Regions from separate parts of the Homo sapiens genome. Here all the other regions are linked to region 1. Evidence: promoter capture Hi-C in human tissues and cell types (Jung and others, 2019). All regions are on one chromosome and are shown on one strand. Each heading gives the region's core, a stretch centred on a gene start or on the middle of the fragment in contact. The rest is flanking DNA. Distances are from core to core; before and after follow the strand shown.

The links. Contacts are between HindIII fragments. The study calls those that stand out against the background at their distance.
Region 2: a fragment that was not itself captured here is called in contact with the fragment with the promoter of DLX1 in region 1 in 2 of the 25 tissues and cell types used here (lymphoblastoid cells and mesendoderm cells).
Region 3: a contact is called between a fragment that was not itself captured here and the fragment with the promoter of DLX1 in region 1, in 1 of the 25 tissues and cell types used here (spleen).
Region 4: a fragment that was not itself captured here is called in contact with the fragment with the promoter of DLX1 in region 1 in 2 of the 25 tissues and cell types used here (H1 embryonic stem cells and mesenchymal stem cells).
Region 5: a contact is called between a fragment that was not itself captured here and the fragment with the promoter of DLX1 in region 1, in 1 of the 25 tissues and cell types used here (spleen).
Region 6: a fragment that was not itself captured here is called in contact with the fragment with the promoter of DLX1 in region 1 in 2 of the 25 tissues and cell types used here (dorsolateral prefrontal cortex and lymphoblastoid cells).
Region 7: a contact is called between a fragment that was not itself captured here and the fragment with the promoter of DLX1 in region 1, in 3 of the 25 tissues and cell types used here (H1 embryonic stem cells, dorsolateral prefrontal cortex and mesendoderm cells).

The regions. Positions count from the first base shown.
Region 1 is chr2:172,083,901-172,086,891 of GRCh38, reverse strand. It overlaps DLX1 (distal-less homeobox 1), which reads right to left and starts at 1,385. Exons shown (of 3, transcript NM_178120.5): 1 at 902-1,385; 2 at 39-238. The coding sequence starts at 1,214. RefSeq lists enhancers at 514-1,125, 1,157-1,276, 1,126-1,739, 1,740-2,351, 2,352-2,965 and a silencer at 1,557-1,666. The HindIII fragment of the contact is 6,806 bases long and covers 1-2,991 here.
Region 2 is chr2:171,599,585-171,602,575 of GRCh38, reverse strand. No RefSeq gene overlaps it. Among named protein-coding and RNA genes, the nearest start is that of CYBRD1, 79 kb to the right of the region's middle. The HindIII fragment of the contact is 3,544 bases long and covers 1-2,991 here.
Region 3 is chr2:172,542,769-172,545,759 of GRCh38, reverse strand. All of the region lies in intron 1 of PDK1-AS1 (PDK1 and ITGA6 antisense RNA 1), which reads left to right. Among named protein-coding and RNA genes, the nearest start is that of PDK1, 12 kb to the left of the region's middle. The HindIII fragment of the contact is 3,343 bases long and covers 1-2,991 here.
Region 4 is chr2:171,638,389-171,641,379 of GRCh38, reverse strand. No RefSeq gene overlaps it. Among named protein-coding and RNA genes, the nearest start is that of DYNC1I2, 48 kb to the left of the region's middle. The HindIII fragment of the contact is 4,270 bases long and covers 1-2,991 here.
Region 5 is chr2:171,673,107-171,676,097 of GRCh38, reverse strand. No RefSeq gene overlaps it. Among named protein-coding and RNA genes, the nearest start is that of DYNC1I2, 13 kb to the left of the region's middle. The HindIII fragment of the contact is 8,060 bases long and covers 1-2,991 here.
Region 6 is chr2:171,692,948-171,695,938 of GRCh38, reverse strand. All of the region lies in intron 3 of DYNC1I2 (dynein cytoplasmic 1 intermediate chain 2), which reads right to left. Among named protein-coding and RNA genes, the nearest start is that of DYNC1I2, 7.0 kb to the right of the region's middle. The HindIII fragment of the contact is 3,597 bases long and covers 1-2,991 here.
Region 7 is chr2:171,788,277-171,791,267 of GRCh38, reverse strand. The region is part of intron 15 of SLC25A12 (solute carrier family 25 member 12); the gene reads left to right. Among named protein-coding and RNA genes, the nearest start is that of DYNC1I2, 100 kb to the right of the region's middle. The HindIII fragment of the contact is 3,928 bases long and covers 1-2,991 here.

The sequences.
Region 1 (2,991 bases), core at 136-2,635:
AGCCTGCGTGGCAGAACGGAGCGGCAGCGGCGAGGTACCTGAGTCTGTGTGAGTCCCAAAGAGGCCGCGAGCTCCGCCCTCTCCGGCAGAGCTAGGTACTGAGTTTGCTGGAACCTCCGGTTCAAAGCCTGCAACTGCAAACTGGAATAAATCGTCCTGGGTTTACGGATCTTTTTTCCCTTGCCATTGAAGCGCACTTCACCGCCTTCCACCACCGTGCTCTTCTCCGAGTCCGCCCCTGGAGGGACAGCAGAAGTAGGGCCCGTTGTTAATACGAGGGGCCGCCTTTAGTGCGAACAGCCGAGAGCGAGTGGCTACCGAAGGGTGGCGGAGGCAGCACCAGGGAGAGAACGTTCAAGAAACTCTGAAAGCCAGGGAAGGGTCCCCCAAAATCCGAGGGCCTGTCCCGGGACGCTGCAGGAGGGATAGAGCCGTTCCCAGGAGCTCAGCTCCTGCCTTTGCAGGGAAAGTTTGCTATTTTTGCAGGCGGTAGTTGAGGTTTAATTACCCTTAATTGCATACATTGTTTATAGCGCTACGCAATAAATAATTACCGAGACTAATACGTGCACATGTGGGTTTCTGTTTTCCAGCGGGGCATTGTGTGCTCTGCACACCGAGCCGCCCAGAGGCCCAGCCAGTGCCAGGAGACGCTCTGGGATTTATCCTTGGCTGGATAGTTGCAAATTGAGGGAATTTTTAAAAAAATTTATTTGCTGTGACAAGGATCTATAGATTGATATTCGAAACCTCCACTGCTCCCGCGCCCTCCCCACCCCCACCCCACCTCGCTCTCCTCTCTTCTCTTTCTCTCTCTCTCCCTCTCCTCTTCTCCCCCGCTCCTTCTTTCCCTCTCTCCCTTGTACCTCCTCCTCTCCCTCTCCCTGGCAAGCGCACGTACCTGGGTCCTCCAGGCGGCTCTGGGCGAGGCTGGCGCTGCCCGGGTAGGACTGCACCGAACTGATGTAGGGGCTGGATGCGTGGCTGCTGACCGAGTTGACGTAGGGGTAGCCCAGCGGTCGGGAGAAGGACGAGGCTGAGCTGTAGGCGCCGTCGGGCTGCGAATGGCCCGCCGAGTGTAAACAGTGCATGGAGTAGTGCCCGTGGGACATGGGAGAAGGAGACATTTGCTGGTTGGGCGGCCCAAACTCCATAAACACCGCCTTGCCCGACACGGGGCTGTTGAGACTTTCTGGCATGGTGGTCATGGTCATCTCTTCTCGCGGGGTCTGGGTGTGGGACTTTCTCTCCTCTGCTTCCCTTTTGGGGGTCTCTATGTTTCTCAGGACAGGAAGGAACCCAATTTAAGCGGAACAGGGGTTTTCACTTTCCATTCATAAGAAAATGGAGTTTGTCTCTTTGAAAAGTCTAAGCATGATGCTGCTGAGCTCCCCAAACTCGGTTCAAAGCTTTGACTCAGCGAAGGTCATAAATATTCATGAGCTGGCGGAGCTGATTGGTCCGCTGTCTTGCATAATCACTGGGGATTGGTCCGAGGCGCTCGGGCTCCGCTGGACTAGAGCGGGCGAGGCGGCCCGGCCTCGGGTAAGACGCATCCACACTTCCCGGCCGGGGCTCCTCTGCAACAGAGCGCGCCGGGCAGGAAGCACAATGGGCTGCGGCGTCTGCGCCGGGGCCCCTGCGGCCCGCGGCTCATCGGCCTCCCGCCTCCCTCGCGCGCTTTCCTCCCCAGGAACCAACCAGCGGCTCCGCGCCGCCGCCCCCCTACCACTGTCCCCACCCTTCAGCGGTCCCTAACACCGGACACCCGGGACCGCTTCTCGTCGCTGCCACTCAGTTCGGCGCAGAGCTAGGGCGGCTCAGGAGGAGACTGACCTCTGCCTCTGGAGCGCGGAGTCGCGCACTGGGGGCGCCCGAGGCGGCCAACAGACAGAGGTTCTCCTAAGAGCCTTGTGCCTAGCGCAGCGCCTATCCGGCCGCGCCTCCCCGGTACGCTCTGCCGCATCCCTGGAGTCGGGGCTTAGGGGCCCTCCCTGCGAACTCACTCACTCGGCCGCTGCGCCAACGCCGCTGTCGCTCCCTGGGGCCCGCTCGCATTGCTCCAGGCCCAGCTGGCCACTCCAGCTCGAGGCTGCACGGGTCTGATTAAAGCAGTGCGCGTGGAGAGCCAGGAACCCGCGCTTCTCCTCCCAGGAAAGGCGGCTGCACCGCCCCCTCCCCCAACACACACATCCTCTTTCCCTCCCAGCCTTCCTCCTCCTCCCCCTCCCTTCTCCACTCCCCATGCGCGGAGAGCCCCGGGCTCACTCGCCCCGAGAGCGCGGCTCAGCGTGGAGCCCAGGGGGCCTAGGGGCTCAGATCTGCTGGAGCCACCGACGCCAGGTGGTCATTTTCCGGCCTCCTGAGGTCTAGCGCGACTTCCAGAGTTTAGGAGTCCCTGGGGGACACCGAAACCCGCAGCAAACCCAGGCCTGTGGTAGGCTCCCTTATCTATGTGTAGACGTCTCTCGTTGCCACCCAGGATCTTCCTCACCTCCAGTGGCCAAAGCGCGCGCCACCAGGCCTAGGGGGCAGGGCTAGTGGAGGCAAGATCTGCCGCTGCTCCTTCTGTCTTCTGGGGTGCTAGGTACAAAAAAGTGCACAAGAGCCCCCACCCCATCGCCACTACTACCAATACAGCCAGTCCCTCGCGGTGTGGCGTACACCACCCTGGCTGTAAGTGGATGTTGGTTCCCCATCCCGCCAGCCCCACGGTGAATCCCAAATTACTTTGTTAGGTAATTAGAAAGTGTTGATAATTATTTCTTTCATAATTTAGCGGTGTGACGGGAACGGGGAAATGATCTTGTGAAAGTTCACACGTGCAGATGTATTAGTTACTGATTCATTTGATTAAATGGTAGTCTCAAGTGCTCAGATCCGCAGCTGAAGGCGCCCCATTAGCATAACACTGATGTTTAATTTTCATACGCATAATTAGCCATATATTTAACACTAATAGCAACATGCAGCCTTTCAGCGTTAAACAGC
Region 2 (2,991 bases), core at 354-2,853, 480 kb after region 1:
CCGCCTCTCAAATCTGAGGATGAGAAGGAAGTAGGAGAAGGAAGAGGGGAGGGCAGGTCAATTAGAGGAGAAGAGGTGAGAAGGGACCTGAGGGTTCCGGGGCTGAGACCCTCCTCAGGCAGCTGAGGGATTGGCTGGAAGATGGACGGAGAGTGGATCACAGATGAGCTTGCTGAGATTTTCATGTACTCATTAGATTTACAAGTTAATTTACTTTGTGGACCAGGCAAAGGGTATTATATTAAGAAATAAATGATTTAACTATTGGTCCATGTTTGGGACCACCTCAGTTTTTACACAGAACACCGTGCCTCATCAGATGTTTTTGCCTAACATGGCAGTAAAGGTAATTTTTCTCTAGGGAGTATCCCAGCTTTTAAATAATGTTTTCTAGAACATTTCTAGCTGACAGGGAGTTTATAGAGTTTAAAGTTTAAAATATAAGCTTACAGGGTTAAGCTTATATTTTTACTTTCTGACAGGTAAAAAAAACTTTGTAATCTTCTCCACACAGCAATATTTACCAGTAATCCACACTTCCAACCACAACATGATTTTTGCAGGGATAGGGTTAGGCTTGGGCTGACTAGAGATTTTCTTCAAAGAGCCTCCTCATCATCAAGGCCCTTTGGAGTTTAGAATGTGTGTGGAAGGGAAGATGCCAACGCGAAGTGTGTGAGAACAACAGAAGGAGGAGACTTTCTTTTATTTTTATTTTCGAGATGGAGTCTCCCTTAGTCGCCCAGGCTGGAGTGCAGTGGAGTGATCTCAGCTCACTGCAACCTCCGCCTCCCAGGTTCCAGCAATTCTCCTGCTTCAGCCTCCTGAGTAACTGGGATTACAGGCACGTGTCACCACGCCTGGCTAATTTTTGTATTATTAGTAGAGATGGGATTTGACCATGTTGGCCAGGATGGTCTTGAACTCCTGACCTCAGGTGATCCACCCACCTCTGCCTCCCAAAGTGCTGGGATTACAGGTGTGAGCCACTGTGCCGACGTATCTTTTAATTTTTAAAATAGAGATAGGGTCTCACCATCTTGACCAGGCTGCTCCTGAACTCCTGGCCTCAAGTGATCCTCCCATCTTGGACTCCCAAAGTGCCGGGATTACAGATGTGAGCCACCACATCTGGCCAGAAGGAGCAGACTTTGTCCAGAGAATTTTTAAAGAGAAAAAAAGCTGGTTAAAAGTGGGGATATCTGGGGCAGAGCACTTGGGAAGGTTATGGAAGCTGGAGGCCAAGAGGCGCCATCGCAGAACAACACAAAAATTCAGGTGAGGTGAGGAGAAGGGAGAGCAGCTTTGGGCAGCACAGAAGGCAGCAAATACAGAAAATTATAAAGATCAAAAACCTGAAATCCCACCATCCAAAGACAGCCACAAAGGTATTTTGGTAAACATCTTTCCTGATATTTCCATATTCAATCACGTGCTTTAACATTCTTTAAATCAATTAAAAAAAAACAAAAACAAAAAACAAAACAGGGTCTGGCTCTGTTGCCCAGGCTGGCATGCAATGGTGCGATCATGGCTCACGGCAACCTCTGCCTCCCAGGCACAAGCAATCCTCCCACCTCAGCCTCCTGAGAAGCTGGGATTACAGGCACGTGCTGCTATGCCCGGCTATTTTTTTTTTTTAGTAGAGATGGGGTTTTGCAAGAGCCTAAGTTGCCAAGGCTGGTCTCAAACTCCTGGGCTCAAGGGATCCACCTACCTTGGCCTCCCAAAGTGCTGGGATTACATGCATGTAATCCGTGCCCAGCCCACATCAATCTTGGCTAGAGGAAACAAAGGGGAAAGATTACTTATTTAGGACATGGACATCCATGTGTGCTGCCTTATTGCTAACATGCTCACAAACCACTAGAAAGAACTTTTTCAGAAACTTGAATTGCCTCTGTCAGATTCTCCAGAATTTCTTTTCTTCCTTCCTCCGTCCCTTTCCTGGGCCACCTCCTCCATAGGCACCTGTGTCACTGTCAGAAAACATAACAGAGCTTGTTTCTCTTGGGACCGCATTGTGCTTTAGGGGTTCTAGCCTAACCTTATCTTTTTCCTTCAGAGCAGTGTTTTTCTTGGGTATCTCTATGGAACCCATCAGGAAAGCTCATCTCTTGAGTACCCAGGAAGCTAAGAGGGCAATAGCTGGCCAGAGTAGATCAGGGAAAGGCAAGGGAAAACTCTATGCTCACCACTTAGCTTACTCCTACAAAGTGTGTGCAGCCCATATCCAGCCAAGTTATGACTTGCCTTTGAACAGTTAACTGAGCATGATACTGCCTGATTGAAGGGTGTGGAAAGGAAACCAACATTTGGTGAGCTCCTGCTCTGTACTCTGTACTAGTTACTTTTTACATTATTTTATTCAATCTTAAAAAATGCAGAGAGACAGCATTGGTATTGTTGACATTTTGCAGATGAAGAAACTAAGGCACAGGGAGGCTAAATAACTTGTCAAAGCCACCAAATTCCTAAGTGGCAGAGCTGATATTCAAATCCAGGTGTGATTTATCCAGCTCAAAAAATCATCATCCTTCTCGCTGGGTAGAAACCCTGTGGTCAACTAGAGAGTCCAGATCTCTACCTTTGTTCTTGCTTTGGGTTGCTGCTGCTATCCAATACAGAAGGACTTTGGCCTTGAACTGTAAAAGTCGTTCTTTAGGGTAGGCATTGCCATTGCCTGATGTGTTAGTCCAGGTCCTCTGAGAAGCAGACACCAAGATGGAATTAAATGTGCAAAGATTTTATTAAGAAAAATTCTGCTGTGAGAGACATGGGCAGGAGGAGAAGGCTGAGAGCCGTCAGATGGCAATGCAAGTCCGATCTCAAAGAAGAAAAGGAGGGAAGGTTGGATGAAGCATCCTGGACCACTGAGCAGTGTAAGGAAGGTTTGGCAAAAACCTTCAGCCATAAGAGAAGTCCCACATCTCCAGGAATGAGCCTGCCTTATTATCCCCTCCCTGCTCAGTTATCGGCTGGGAGGCGCGA
Region 3 (2,991 bases), core at 271-2,770, 460 kb before region 1:
TTTGCATCTAGCTTCCAAATTTTGGAGAAACCAGGCAGAGAGAAACAAATATGCTCCAAATTTTGTTTGCAGGAGTATACCTTACTCAATTGTTAAAAGTTGTAAATAGCTGAAAATAAAAGTTTTCCTGGCTTTGAAAAACAAAAGGTTCAGCAACATTTTAAGCAAAAAATTAAAAAGGATTACTTCAGTTTTCTATTAGTTCAGTCCATTTTGTTAACTCTTATTCTGCAATTCAGCTCTTCATGAATCCTATATTGTTTTCCTCTATTCCAATGTCACAATCTCCCAAGTTATCAGAAACCTTTATTTAAGAGCACGTGTCAAAGTCCTATAGCTGATTATAAACCATCTTTTGAAAAGGATCAAAACAAGACAACAGTTGTCTCTGAATAACAAAATGTCCAGGGTAGTTACAGTCAAAAACAGGATTAACAAAGAAATTTGGTTATTATTGTGGTTTATAATAACTTAACATAGTAACTCTAATTATGATTGATAGCATATACTCAAACATTAGAATTTTAGAAATCCAATACAATTTTGGAACATATTTTAATATGATATACTAAAATATAACCTGAAGAAGTTAAACATAATTTTTATTTTGACAATGCTGTGTAACTAAACATGTCAGATAATCCTGTTTATTTCTCTTTTGGGTGCTTCAGGGGCCCTCTGTAGCAGCTAAAAGTTGGGAGTCAGGAAAGAGAATTTTGAAGTTGAAGTTTGATTTTGGGAAGCCTATCAAATATGTTAAAGATTTAGAACACTTGATATTATGAAATAGAATTCCAGGTTATCATAAATCATTTATTTACCTAAAATGATGGCTCAAAATTTTAATGTTATATATCTTTATTTCTTTAATCATACGATCCATTCTTTTTTTATTATTATACTTTAAGTTCTGGGGTACATAGGCACAACATGCAGGTTTGTTACATACGTGTACATGTCCCATGTTGGTTTGCTGCACCCATCAATTCGTCATTTGCATTAGGTATTTCTCCTAATGCTATCCCTCCCCAAGCCCTCCACCCCTCAACAGGCCTCAGTGTGTGATGTTCCCCTCCCTGTGTCCATGTATTCTCATTGTTCAAATCCCACTTATGAGTGAGAACATGCGGTGTTTGGTTTTCTCTTCTTGTGTTACTTTGCTGAGAATGATGGTTTCCAGTTTCATCCATGTCCCTGCAAAGGACATGAACTCATCCTTTATTATGGCTGCATAGTATTCCATGATGTATATGTGCCACATTTTCTTTACCTAGTCTATAATTGATGGGCATTTGGGTTGGTTCCAAGTCCTTGCCATTGTGAATAGTGCTGGGCCCAAGCTGAGCTGCTGTCAGTATCCAAAGGGTCCAGTCTGGTGATCTGAAGAACAACAACAGGAGACTCTGGACAGCAGAAAAGGTCCATCCCTGATCTAGGTTCTGAGGGCCTGCCATGAGCCTTTCCATCTTAGTTCAAATTTCTCCTTTCACTGTGAGAGTTACCTGAAACTCGGCGTCTGTGATGGTCTAGGGGGCTTCCAAGGTGATCGGGCAGTGTCAGTCTTCAGCCACTAAGCCGAGAAGATCTGGGAAGGAGTCAGTCAGAGAGCCAGGGGCTCTGCGAGTGGCTGCCAGGTGAGTTGAACTGTCCGATTTTCAGTGGGGTCCTGCACAGATTGGACGCAGCTTAGGAGGAATTCTGGGCTGTGGGCATTCCTTGGCCTGGTGGCCAGATTTCTGGCACTTGTAGCAAGCTTCTGGGGGAGGCGGGCCTGAAGGAATGCCTGGCCACTGTGGTTTAGGCATTTGGAAGTTTTTGTGTGTGGAGATGTGGCTGGGGTTTGTCTCACAGTGGAGGCAAGGAATTGCAACTCAGAAATATGTTGCTACTTGGCTGCCTCTACTCTATTATTGTACACCTTGAAGGCGAGGTTAATTAAGTCCTGTTGTGGGGTTTGAGGGCTGGAATTTAATTTTTGGAGTTTTATTTAATGTCGGGAGCAGATTGGATAATAAAATGTATATTGAGAATAAGACGTCCTTTTGACCTTTTAGGGTCTAGGGCTGTAAAGCGTCTCAGGGTTGCTGCTAAATGAGCCATGAACTGGGCTGGGTTCTTATATCTGTTGAAAAAGAGCCTAAATGCTCTCTAATTTGGGATAAAGAAAAAGGAGCATTAACCTTGATTGTGCCTTTAGCTCCAGCCACCTTTTTAAGAGGAAATTGCTGGGCAGGTGGGGGAGGGCTAGTCTCAGAACGAAACTGTGAGCCGGACCTGGTGTGAGGAGGGGAGGTGATAAAAAGGATAATAGGGTGGAGGAGCAGAGGCTGAGGAAGAATTGGGACCTAGCTCAGCCTGGCGAGGAGGGGAGAGGTCAGATGGGTCTGTAGAAAAGGAATATTAGAAAGACTCAGCGATGCTTGGGGTTGGGACTAAGGGGACAGGCGGGAGAGAAAGAAGGAAGATTTGGGACAAGTTGCATTGGGAACAGAAACTAGGGAGGGACCGACGTGTAAAAGAATGCCTGGACGTCAGGCACCTCAGACCGTTTGCCTATTTTACGGCAAGAATTATTTAGATCTCATAGGATGGAAAAATTGAAAGTGCTATTTTCTCGCTATTTGGAACCACTGTTGAGTTTGTATTGGGTCAAGTGGCATTGCAGAAGGAAATAAGGCATTTAGGTTTTAGGTCAGGTGTTTGTTGAAGAGGTTTTAGGTTTTTAAGAACACAGGCTAAGGGAGAAGAAGGGGGAATGGAGGGTGGAAGCTTGCCCATAGTGAAGGAGGCAAGCCCAGAGAAAAGAGAGAGTAGAGACACGGAGAGAAGGGGTGGGGGGTTCTTGACCCCCAGAAAAGCAGAGAAGGGGTAAAGACAGAGAGAAGGGGTCGGGGGGTTCCTGCCCCCTAGAAAAGCAGTACTTGCCACTAAGAGTGAAGGAGAAGGGGTTGAGGGGTTCTTGCCCCCTAGAAAAGTGGTACTTGCTGCTAA
Region 4 (2,991 bases), core at 257-2,756, 450 kb after region 1:
CAGCACACCAACATGGAGTGTGTATACATATGTAACAAACCTGCATATTGTGCACATGTACCCTAAAACTTAAAGTATAATTAAAAAAGAAAAATTAAAAAAAATCCTAAAATTTATAAGGAACCACAAAAAAACCAAATAGCCAAAGCTATTCTGAGCAAAGGGAATAAAACTGGAGGAATCACATTACCTGACTTTGAATTATACTACAGAGCTATAGTAACCAATACAGCAGCACTATCTACAACAGCCAAGATTTGGAAGCAACCTAAGTGTCCATCAACAGAGGAATGGATAAAGAAAATGTGCTACATATACACTAACATGAAAACAGACACATAGACCAAGAGAACAGAATAGAGAACCAAGAAAGGAATTCATGCATCTACAGTAATTCATTTTCAACAAAGGTGCCAAGAACATACACTGGGGAAAGGACAGTCTCATCAATAAATGGTGCTGGGGAAACTGGATATCTATGTGCAGAAGAATGAAACTAGATCCCTATCTCAACATATACAACAATCACATCAGAATGGATTGGCCAGGTGCGGTGGCTCATGTCTGTAATCCCAGCACTTTGGGAGGCCGAGGCAGGCGGATCACTTGAAGTCAGGAGTTCAAGACCAGCCTGGCCAACATGGCGAAGCCCCATCTCTACTAAAAATACAAAAAAATTAGCCTGACATGGTGGCAGGTGCCTGTAATCCCAGCTATGTGGGAGGCTGAGGCAGGAGAATCGCTTGAACCTGGGAGGCGGAGGTTGCAATGAGCCGAGATGATGCCACTGCACTCCAGCCTGGACGACAGAGCCAGACTTCATCTAAAAAAAAAAAATCAGAATGGATTAAAGACTTAAGTCTAAGACCTCAAACTATGAAACTACTAAAAGAAAACTTCGGGGAAACTCTCCAGGACATTGGTCTGGGCAAAGATTTCTTAAGTAATGCCCCACAAGCATAGGCAACCAAAGTGAAAATGGAGAAATGGAATCACATAAAGTTAAAAAGCTTCTGCACAGCAAAGGAAACAATCAACAATGTGAGAAGATAACCCATACAATGGGAGAGAATATTTGCAAATTATCCATCTGACAAGGGGTTAATAACCAGAATATATAACAAGCTCAAACAACTCTATAGGAAAGAAATCTGAGAATCTGATTTTAAAATATGTGAATAACATTTCTCAAAAGAAGACATACAAATGGCAAAGAGGCATATGAAAAGGTGCTCAACATCATTGGTCATCAGAGAAATGCAAACCAAAACTATAATGATATATAATCTCACCTCAGTTTAAAAAGTGGCTTTTTCGACAGGCAATAATGAATACTGGTGAGGATGCGGAGTAAAGGGAACCCTCCTCCACTATTGGTGGGGATGTTGATTAGTACAAGCACTACGGAGAACAGTTTGGAGGTTCCTCAAAAAACTAAAAATAGAACTACCATATGATCCAGCAATCTCACTTCTAGGTATATACCCAAAAGAAAGGAAATCAATATATCAAAGAGATATCTGTATGCCCATTTTTATTGAAGCACTATTCTCAATAGCTAAGATTTGGAAGCATGATAAGTGTCCATCAACAGAGGAATGGATAAAGAAAATGTGCTACATATACACAATGGAGTACTATTCCGCCATAAAATGAATGAGATTCTATCATTTGCAACAACATAGCTTGAATTGGAGGTCATTATGTTAAAGAAAATAAGCCAGGCACGAAAAGACAAACTTCACATGTTCCCACTTATTTGTGGGAGCTTAAAATTAAAACAATTGAACTCAAGGAGATAGAGAGTAGAAGGATGGTTACCAGAGGCTGGGGAGAGTAATGTAAGTGGGGTGGGTTAGGTGGAATGGGGATGGTTAATGGGGACAAAAATATAGTTAAGCAGAATGAATAAGATCTAGTATTTGAGCCGGGCAGGGTGGCTTGTGCCTGTAATCCCAGCCACTCGGGAGGCTGAGGCAAGAGAATGGCTTGAACCTGGGAGGCGGAGGTTGCAGTGAGCTGAGATTGCACCACTGCACTCCAGCCTGGGCAACAGAGTGAGACTCCACCTCAAAAAAAAAAAAATCTAGTATTTGATATCACAACAGGGTGACTATAGCCAACAATAATTTATTGTGCATTTTAAAATAACTGAAAGTTATTTGATTGTAACACAAAGGATGAAAGCTTGAGGTGATAGATATCCCATTCACCCTGATGTAATTATTACACATTGTATGTCTGTTTCAAAATGTCTCATGTGCCCCATAAATATATACACATACTATGTACCCACAAAAATTAAAAATAAATTTAAAAAAAGAAAAAAAGAAAAGCCTGGACTGCTTTTGAATAGTTGGTGTATAATCTCTGGAGTTATGCGGTAAGGATCGATGACATGGCAGCCAACATTCACTTCTCATGGCACACTGTGGCATGCTGCAGTGTGGTCTGATCTGACTGGATAATAGCTGGGTTGAACACAAGGGGACCCCTACATCAGCCTTGAGAGAGGGCACAATTCAAACTTGGTAGCTGGGCAGCTTGGAGGCTCTCAAACACTAAAATCTACAATCTAGACTCTAGATTGTAGAATCTAGATTCTATTCTAGAGAATAACATGAAGACCCTACAGATCCTGGTTCAAAAGGCCACTACCAACAGACACAATCCCACAAACAGAACCATAAAGAGTTAGGGACCACTGGGCCAGGGCACTGCTTTATGCGTCCAGTCTCAGCAGCTTTTCCATCACCAATTCAGACACCTCACTGAGCTGCCATTTTGGGTGAGATGGGAGGCTTCTCATTGAGTTCCCCAGTTCCTTCTTGGTATGCCTAAGTAGTACTCCCTTTTGGTCACATATCAACATTTTAAAACTTGACCTATATATCCAATCTGTGATTTCTTCTGAGTCAGTAACCATACACTGTTATTTGCTTTATATTATAATCACATTTTCCTTTTACTTTACTAAAGGATGTGGCTATG
Region 5 (2,991 bases), core at 313-2,812, 410 kb after region 1:
GGACTTTCCACTATGTGAGTCTTGGTAGGAGGCGGGCTTCTCCAAAGCCCATTTACTGACTTTCCTAGCCTTCCTAGCAGTTAGGGTATGAGCACGTGAGCCAGGCTTGGATCAGAGTCACCTGCCCAAGTCAGTGAATCAAGAACTAGTGCTACTCAGAAGCAGAGCAGAGAAATTGTTTTAGTGGTAGTGACTGTGGTAGCAACATCCAGTTTTTGGAGCAGCGACTCCAGCTTCCTTTGTGTATGACAGCTTTACCTACAGAGGCAAAGGCAACGGGGCCCTCTTAGACTGGGTCCAGGTGTGATCTTGCCCGAAGCTCTGTTTGTCCAGGCTTGCTTTGTTTCTTCCTGTTCTCCAAACCTGGTATTCTGGCCCTCCTGGAAATTCTGTGAGCCACTCAATGCACTCCAATACATTTCTTTCAGGCTTAAATCAGCCCGAGTCAGTTTCTGGTGATTCCATCTAAGAATCCTGATGAATATGGGGGCTGGGAGAGGAATTGGAGTACATTGCAGTATTGGAGGACATTGGGATTACAGGAACGTGCAGAAGCCCTGAAGTGGGAGTGGAGGTGGAGAGAGAGCTTGGATTATTTCAGGAACTGAGAAAGAAATCAAAGTGGTTGGGGTTAGTGAAAAGGTGGCAAGTGGATAAGATGGGTGCAAGTGGACGAGCTAGGCAAGAGTCCAAGCTAGCAGGTACCCATAATAGAAGTAGGAAATGTGCTGGGCCTATTCTTTTCTCAGCCAGACTCAACTGTCTCATGTGTCCTGATCAGATGGGTCTCCATTGGTCAGCAGGACTCCAGGGCCATTCTGGTGTGGTGGTATCCACTCTGCTGTGCCAAGAAATTCCAAACCATGTCCCACACAGAAGGCTAAGCCTTGGGCTTTCCATTTCCAACCCAATGAGATCTCTCTCCTTTGAAGACCAAGATACTGTTTATGTATCCCTAAAGACATTTATAACATTCAGCTTTTGTTATATGTTTTTGAGAATTTGTCATATCCCTTACTAGACAGTTAACTCTCTGAGAACAGGGTGGGGAGGTGGAATGATTACATGCTTTGGCAAAAATACATCTGGAATTAAAAATTTTTTTGGTCCTTTCAATTACACGTTATATGATCGCAGACAAATTGTTTCACCTCTCTAACTTCAGTTTTCTTATCTGAAAAATAAGCATACTAGTATCTACTTGTCAGGAATATATCGAAGGTTATTTTTACTGCAAATCACCACACAATGCCCACAACATAGGAGGCACTCTAAATCACACAAAAGGCTCTCTGTAAATGTTAGTTCCTTTGTGTCTTTTGTAGTATTTCATTGAACAGAATAAAATCTGCTGGATTTAGGAAAACAAAATAAAATCCTTGCTTTTTGTGCTTACCTCATTGTGAAGTGCTAATTTAAAATAATGTAGATTACACTGCTTTCTCAGTTCAGAATTTGGTCAGGAAAATTTTCTTTTTCTTAAAAACTATTTTAAGGCATTATTCGCTGTGTGTGGTGGCTCAAGCCTGTAATCCCAGTGCTTTGGGAGGCCGAGGCAGGCAGATCACCAGAGTTCAGGAGTTCGAGACCAGCCTGGCCAACATGGTGAAACCCGTCTCTACTAAAAATACAAAAATTACCTGGGCGTGGTGGTGGGCACCTGTAGTCCCAGCTACTCAAGAGGCTGAGGCAGGAGAATCTCTTGAACCCAGGAGGAAGAGGTTGTGGTGAGCTGGGATCACATCACTGCATTCCAGCCTGGGCAATATAGTGAGACCCTGTCTCAAAAAAAAAAAAGTTATTGCCATTCACTCAGCTCACTTCAGAAAGTGTAGTGATTTTTAAAAATCAACAATTTATTTTCTTCAAACATCTCTGGAGATATGATCTAGGATATAAACAAAACATTGGGTCTAAAACCAGAAGGCAGATTTTATTATCTTGAGAATGCAGGAGGATATTGCTCAAGTCCTGATTATCTTAACCAAAACATTCCCTTATGCAATATTCCCTCTTTTCCATTTTAAGAACTTGAAATCATATACGCTGTATATGATTGTCATTAACTGATCAAATATGTAACTCAGCTGTTAACTTAAAAATTTTAAAACATTATAAGACAAAAATCTTAGAGTCTCTCAAGCCCCTTGCTTCCTGACTTGTTTAAGCAACTTATCTAATGGAATGAATAGAGGTCTTTCAGAACCCTTTTCTTTCCTCCTTGCCCTGATCCTTTAACATACATTTCCTGATCTCCATCTTTTAATTTCTTTCTTCTGTTTCCTAAGATTTTGGTGCAGTTTCTTTTTTCACATCTGGGGATAGGTAAAGAATAAAAGTTTTGCATTATAAATGCATGATGTTTCACTTCAAATCGCAAATGAGACAAGGCAGATTGGACAGAAGATTCATCTATCTTTTTATCTCTAGTTACTTTCTACAAACCACAGGAACTTATAACCATTGAGGGACCAGTCAAAGAAAAGCTTGATTACATAAGGTTGTTGTTTAATGACATTTTAAAAAACATATAGCCTTCTCTTTAAAAATTCCCATATTCTCAGGCTGGGCACAGTGGCTCATACTTATGATCCTAGCACTTTGGGAGGCAGAGGTGGGTGGATTGCTTGAGCTCAGGAGTTCCAGACCAGCCTGGGATGGTGAAATTCCATCTCTACCAAAATATATTAAAAAATTATCTGGGCATGGTGGTGCATGCCTGCAGTCCCACCTACTCAGGAGGCTGAGGTGGAGGATGGCTTGAGCCCAGGAAGTTGAGGTTACCATGAGCTGTGATCATGCCACTGCACTCCATCCTGGATGACAGAGACGCTGTCTCAAAAATAAATAAACAAGTAAATAAATAAATAAATATTCTCAACACTAGTGTCATTCCCAGCACTGAGAATACCCACATAGCCTTGGCGATTGGAGCCTCAGGTGAAAACATTATTACAACTTCCCACAGAGGGAAGGGAAGAAACTTTTGTT
Region 6 (2,991 bases), core at 170-2,669, 390 kb after region 1:
ATGTATATTAAAACATTTTGGTGTACCACTTTATACTCATCAAGTTAGCAAAAATTAGAAAGCTGGATAATATCCAGTCATCATGTGAATATGGTAAAGCAGTTACTTTTTCATGCACTGGTAGCGGGCGGGTAAACTTTGTAGCCATTCTGGAGAGTGACACGCAGAACCTAATTAAGCTAAGTCTTATATACAATAACATAGCAAGTAAATTCTTGGGGATACACCCCAGAGAAAGTATTCCACAGTCCTCAAGGGAAAAAACACATATTTTTTGCAGTGTTGCTTATGATAGTAAAGCAAAGAGACAAAAGGAAACTGAGTGCATAGCACTGGGGGAATGGATAAGTAAAATGTGGTACATAATAGGATATTATATATTAGAAATAAATGACTAAATACGTATATAGCAACATGGAATAAACAAAAGACATACAGCACTATGCCATTTATATATATAAAGTATATATACACAGAGATATGTGAAACCTTGAAAAACAGAGGATAATCTGAAGGATGTATGTTAAAAATTCAAAAGTGGGCCGGGCATGGTGGCTAACACCTGTAATCCAAGCACTTTGGGAGGCCGAAGAAGGCGGATCATGAGGTCAGGAGTTCGAGACCAGCCTGGCCAACGTGGTGAAAGCCCGTCTCTACTAAAGATACAAAAAATTAGTCAGGTGTGGTGGCACGTGCCTGTAATCCCAGCTACTTGGGAGGCTGAGGCAGGAGAATCGCTTAAACTCGGGAGGTGGAGGTTGCAGTGAGCTGAGATCACGTGATTGCACTACAGCCTGGGCGACAGGGCAAGACTCCGTCTCAAAAAAAAAACCAAAAACCAAACAAATAAACAAACAAAAACTGCAAAAGTGGTCACTTAATGCATTAGTGGGAATGAGAATGGAATTAGAGATGAGAAATGAGGGACACATACACAAACCCTAAAGAATGGTCTTTCAAGAATTAATGATGGAGATGGGCCATTGATACAGTTTGGACATCCCCTCCAAATCTCTTGTTGAGATGTAATCCCCAGTGTTGGAAGTGGGGCCTAGTGGGAGATGTTTGGGTCATGGAGGCGGATCCCTCACGGTTTTGTTTAAAACTGTGTGGCACCTCCCCCCACCTCTTGCTCTTGCTCACTGCATGAGACATGCTGACGCCCCTTTGCCTTCTGCCATGATTAGAAGCTTCCTGAGGCCTTGCCACAAGAAGCCAGCAACATACTTCCTGTAAAGCTTGCAGAGCCATGAGCCAATTAAACCTCTTTTCTTTTTTTTTGAGACGGAGTTTCACTCCTGTTGCCCACACTGGAGTGCAATAGCCAGATCTCAGCTCACCACAACCTCTGCCTCCCAGGTTCAAGCAATTCTCCTGCCTCAGCCTCCTGAGTAGCTGGGATTACAGGCATGCGCCACCACGCCCACCTAATTTTGTATTTTTAGTAGAGACGGGGTTTCTCCGTGTTGGTCAGGCTAGTCTTGAACTCCCGACCTCAGGTGATCCGCCCACCTCGGCCTCCCAAAGTGCTGGGATTACAGGCGTGAGCCACCCCACCCAGCCACCTCTTTTCAAGTTACCCAGCCTCAGTATTTCTTTATAGCAACACAAAGAACTAACCCAGCCATAAATTAAGAAATATGAACACTTTAGGGGTGGGTGGATCATGAGGTCAGGAGTTCGAGACCAGCCTGGCCAATATGGTGAAACCCTGTCTCTACTAAAAGTACAAAAATTAGCTGGCGTGGTGGCACAAGCCTGTAGTCCCAGCTACTCAGGAAGCTGAGGCAGAAGAATCGCTTGAACCCAGGAGGTGGAGGTTGCAGTGAGCCGAGATTGTGCCACTGCACTCCAGCCTGGGAGAGTGAGTGAGACTCAGCCTCAAAAAAAAAAAAAGAAGAAAGAAATATGAACAAGTGAGTTCAGTGAAACTAAAGTCTTAAGAAGAACATAAAAGAAAAAAAATCCTATAGGAGAAAAACAAAAGCCAAAGCACAGAAAAAAAAGGTAACTCAAACAAAGGCTAACAAGCAACTTGGTTTAGTTACAAGAAATTAAGTGTTCTGATTCATTTACTTTTAAAATTGCATGTTCAACATAAGCTTATTGAATAAATACATAAAATTAATATACTTCAGTCTTCAAATTCTACAAGAAAAGGAAAATGAGCTGAAAGAAATAACAATGAAGCTGACCATGAGAGTAGCCAGCCTTTTCATCTTGAAACCTTTTAGAAATATCAGCTCTAAGGACAGTTATGTTGCAGTTTCACAACAAGCATAGAGCATTTACAATCTCCAGTATTTGTCCCCTGGACTAGATAAAATTAGCCCACCAACTAGCCCTAAAATGTTAGGTCTCTAAAGGATAAAGGCCATGTTAAACTAAAATACTACATAATAGCACCCAGCACAGAACTATTTTAAGTAAGCATTTGTTCCTGATATGTAACTAGATTGTCCTGTGTACCTCTACTATTTCAGCTTTTTTGGTCTAGTACAGTTATCAAAATGAATAACCCAGAAAAATAATAAGATTAAGTCAAATCACTTCGAAAATAAGCCACAAAATTATCTCCCTTATTAGCATTAACAGCAGAAGGCTATAAGCTTATCCTTCCACTCCTGTACCTTTGAATACTAATATATTTTGCATTCTAACAATATAAGTCTGATTGTATCTCTCGCTAATCTCCAGAAAGGAATATAGAGTTCAGATCAGGAATCCTAGTTATCTTTGAGCTTAACACAGTATGGCACATAAAACTTGCTTAACCAATGTTTGTTGAAATAAATTACTGATTTAATAAGAGAAGTCAATTGGTAGTTCAGTATATGTTAATAATTACTCTTGCAGCTCTTTTGAACAAATAAAATAACCATGTACTAGCATATCTGAAAAAAAGACAATTCCAAATAAAAGATTAATAATTTTAGAGACACAAGGAAAATATGTAAAATATATCAAGTCAATCCACTCAGCTATGTCTGA
Region 7 (2,991 bases), core at 244-2,743, 300 kb after region 1:
AATGTGGATAAACAGCTTAATGCAGCTTAGCAACTCAGAGCCAAATTAGATCTGCCCATCTAAATTGGGCTTTCATCATTAACATGTTTCTTAGTTTCCTGTGCCCCTGAAACCTTGAGTACAGCCAAGCTAAGCATTAAGGTGGGAAAGTTTTTCCTCAAATCAGTTGCTTAGCTGTATCTCATGCTCATGCACAGATCTAGCATGCTCTTACTTTCTCTCTTCTGTATATTGGAATCTACATGATTTGGCCGAAAATTGAGCTTTTGTCGTGAAGCTGTCCCTCTTCTTCCTACCATTGCCCTCATTAGACCAAAGTAAGCAGTACCCCTCAGCAAACCACCTTGAACTCAATTTTTGTATTTTTTCTAATCGTTAACACTTTGTCATTAGCCAGGTGTAGTGGTGCGTGCCTGTAGTCCCAGCCAGCTACCCGGGAGGCTGAGGTGGGAGGATCACCTGAGCCTGGGAGGTCAAGGCTGCGGTGAGCCGAGATGACACCACTGTACTCCAGCCTGGGTGACAGAGTGAGAGCTTGTCTCAAAAAAAAAAAAATTTGTCTTTTATTAATAGTTATTTGCATAATTGTTATCCTCTGTACTAGGCTAATAGCTTCTTGAGGGCAAGAGTTTCATTCTCTTCATCCTTGCCTTTCCTACGTGGCCAGTGTAATAGTAATAGGTGCTCAATAAATGTCAATAACATGAATGAAAACCTTCATGTCGTCTAAGATACCAAATTAGGCACAGAAGAGATTTCATTTGAAAGAGGAGCCTTGTAAGAGCAGGGAGGTACTAAGATGCTTCCTTCTGACCTCATAGGTACAGCCTGACTCTTGAGTTAGGAAGGAGCTGACTTGGAATAGAAGGAGAGAACCAGGTGTCCTTGGCTGCACCAACACTCTGAAAAGACAAAGGAAGGAAGGGGTGCATGTTTGCTCTCTATACAACCAGTAATGAACCATTACAGAGCTCAGTGTGGCTCTGACCAGCCAGGCTTATGTTCACTGTGTTGCTCTTCCTTGCTGGGCTCATTCTCCTCTGGAGGCTCTGGCTAAACATCAGGGCAACCTGAGCAGCTCCCGGAGTGTGCTGTGCTTGTTGTGTGGTAGGAGCCCTTGGGCCTGAGAGTGTTGCGATGGACCACGTTGTTCTTGCTCGTGAAGACAGGGATGACTTTGATCATTAAGAAACGGCCCCAGGGAACTTACCGCCCTTATTTGGGGCCCAGCAAGTCCTTTCTCCTCTAGCAATGGTAATTTTAGTCAGTTTTGTGTTTAAAAGCCAGTAAAGTTACCTGCTCAGTCTTGGCAGTGAGCTGTTTGTAGCAGCCCCTTTCTGGTACTTACCAGTCTCCCACTTTTTTTTTTTTGGTGAGACAGAATCTTGCTCTGTCACCCAGGCTGGAGTGCAGTGGTACAATCTCTGCTCACTGCAACCTCTGCCTCCCGGGTTCAAGCGATTCTCCTGTGTCAGCCTCCCAAGTAGTTGGGACTACAGGCGTGTACCACCATGCCTGGCCAATTTTTGTATTTTTAGTAAAGACAGGGTTTCACCATGTTGGCCAGCACAGCTGGTCAGAGCCACACTGAGCTCTGTAATGGTTCATTACTGGTTGTATAGAGAGCAAACATGCACCCCTTCCTTCCTTTGTCTTTTCGGAGTGTTGGTGCAGCCAAGGACACCTGGTTCTCTCCTCCTTTTCCAAATCAGCTCCTTCCTAACTCAAGAGTCAGGCTGAGGCCGAGCTTGGTGGCTCATTCCTGTAATCCCAGCACTTTGGGAGGCCAAGGCGGGCAGATCACGAGGTCAGGAGATCGAGACCATCCTGGCTAACACGGTGAAACCCCGTCTCTACTAAAAATACAAAAAATTAGCCGGGCGTGGTGGCGGGCTTCTGTAGTCCCAGCTACTGGGGAGGCTGAGGCAGGAGAATGGCATGAACCTGGGAGGCGGAGCTTGCAGTGAGCCGAGATTGTGCCACTGCACTCCAGCCTGGGCGACAGAGTGAGACTGTCTCAAAAAAAAAAGAGAGTCAGGCTGTAAATGTGAGGTCTCAAACTCCTGACCTCAGGTGATCCTCCCATCTTGGCCTTCCAAAGTGCTGGGATTACAAGCGTGAACCACCACACTTGGCCCAGTCTCCTACTTTTAAATGGGGGCAGCATTTGCCTTCCAGGCTTTTCCTTGTGCTTTCCAATCAACAATGAAAAACAGCCAGAGAAGAAGAGTCTAATTGTGGACAGGTGTTTGCAAGTGGTTGAACCAAGTAAATATTTCCATGGAACTGTCAGCACCGACTTCTTCCCCATAGACATTTGATGTCAGTTTTCAGAATGAGATTATTTTTTCTAATTTTTACCAGTCAAGCTTTGCTAGCAGGAACTGAGAACATTCAGAAGTCTGCCTCCAAAGGCAGGAAGTTTACCTAGTTTCATCTGAATAGGGTGCAAGGCCATGCCAAGGGGAAGTATTTGCATTATTCCCTAGCAGAACCTCGTACAAGGCTGCCAACTCCATCCGCCTAGTGAGGATACAGTGATATTCAGGCCAAATTGAATTTCTTCCCCCGGGGAAGATTATTTTGCTCCTTTGCTCTCTGTTTTGTTTTATAAGTAAAAGGTGTGGTTGTGAAATCCATCTTTTGTGTCCTGCTGCTGATCAATCTCAACATGACCCCAGGGAGCTCGGGCACAGGGGCCTTTCCCTGACCAGCTCCCCTGTTGTTTCTTAACTGGCTGCCTGGCCACCTCTTGCTCCAGTTGTAATGACTTTTGTCATGTAAGCATGTCTGAAAGGAGTCACAGTCAACTCTCAAGGTAGCCCTTCAAACAAGCGAGTGATTATAAGTATTGATATTCACTTCCCACACTACGACAAGAATCAGCAAAAACAGTAGTTTGGTGTCAGATACATTTAGTGACTCACTAAGATGACATTATCATTTTTTTATACATAAAAATACTTGTATCTTATTTAAGAAAAAAAGGAG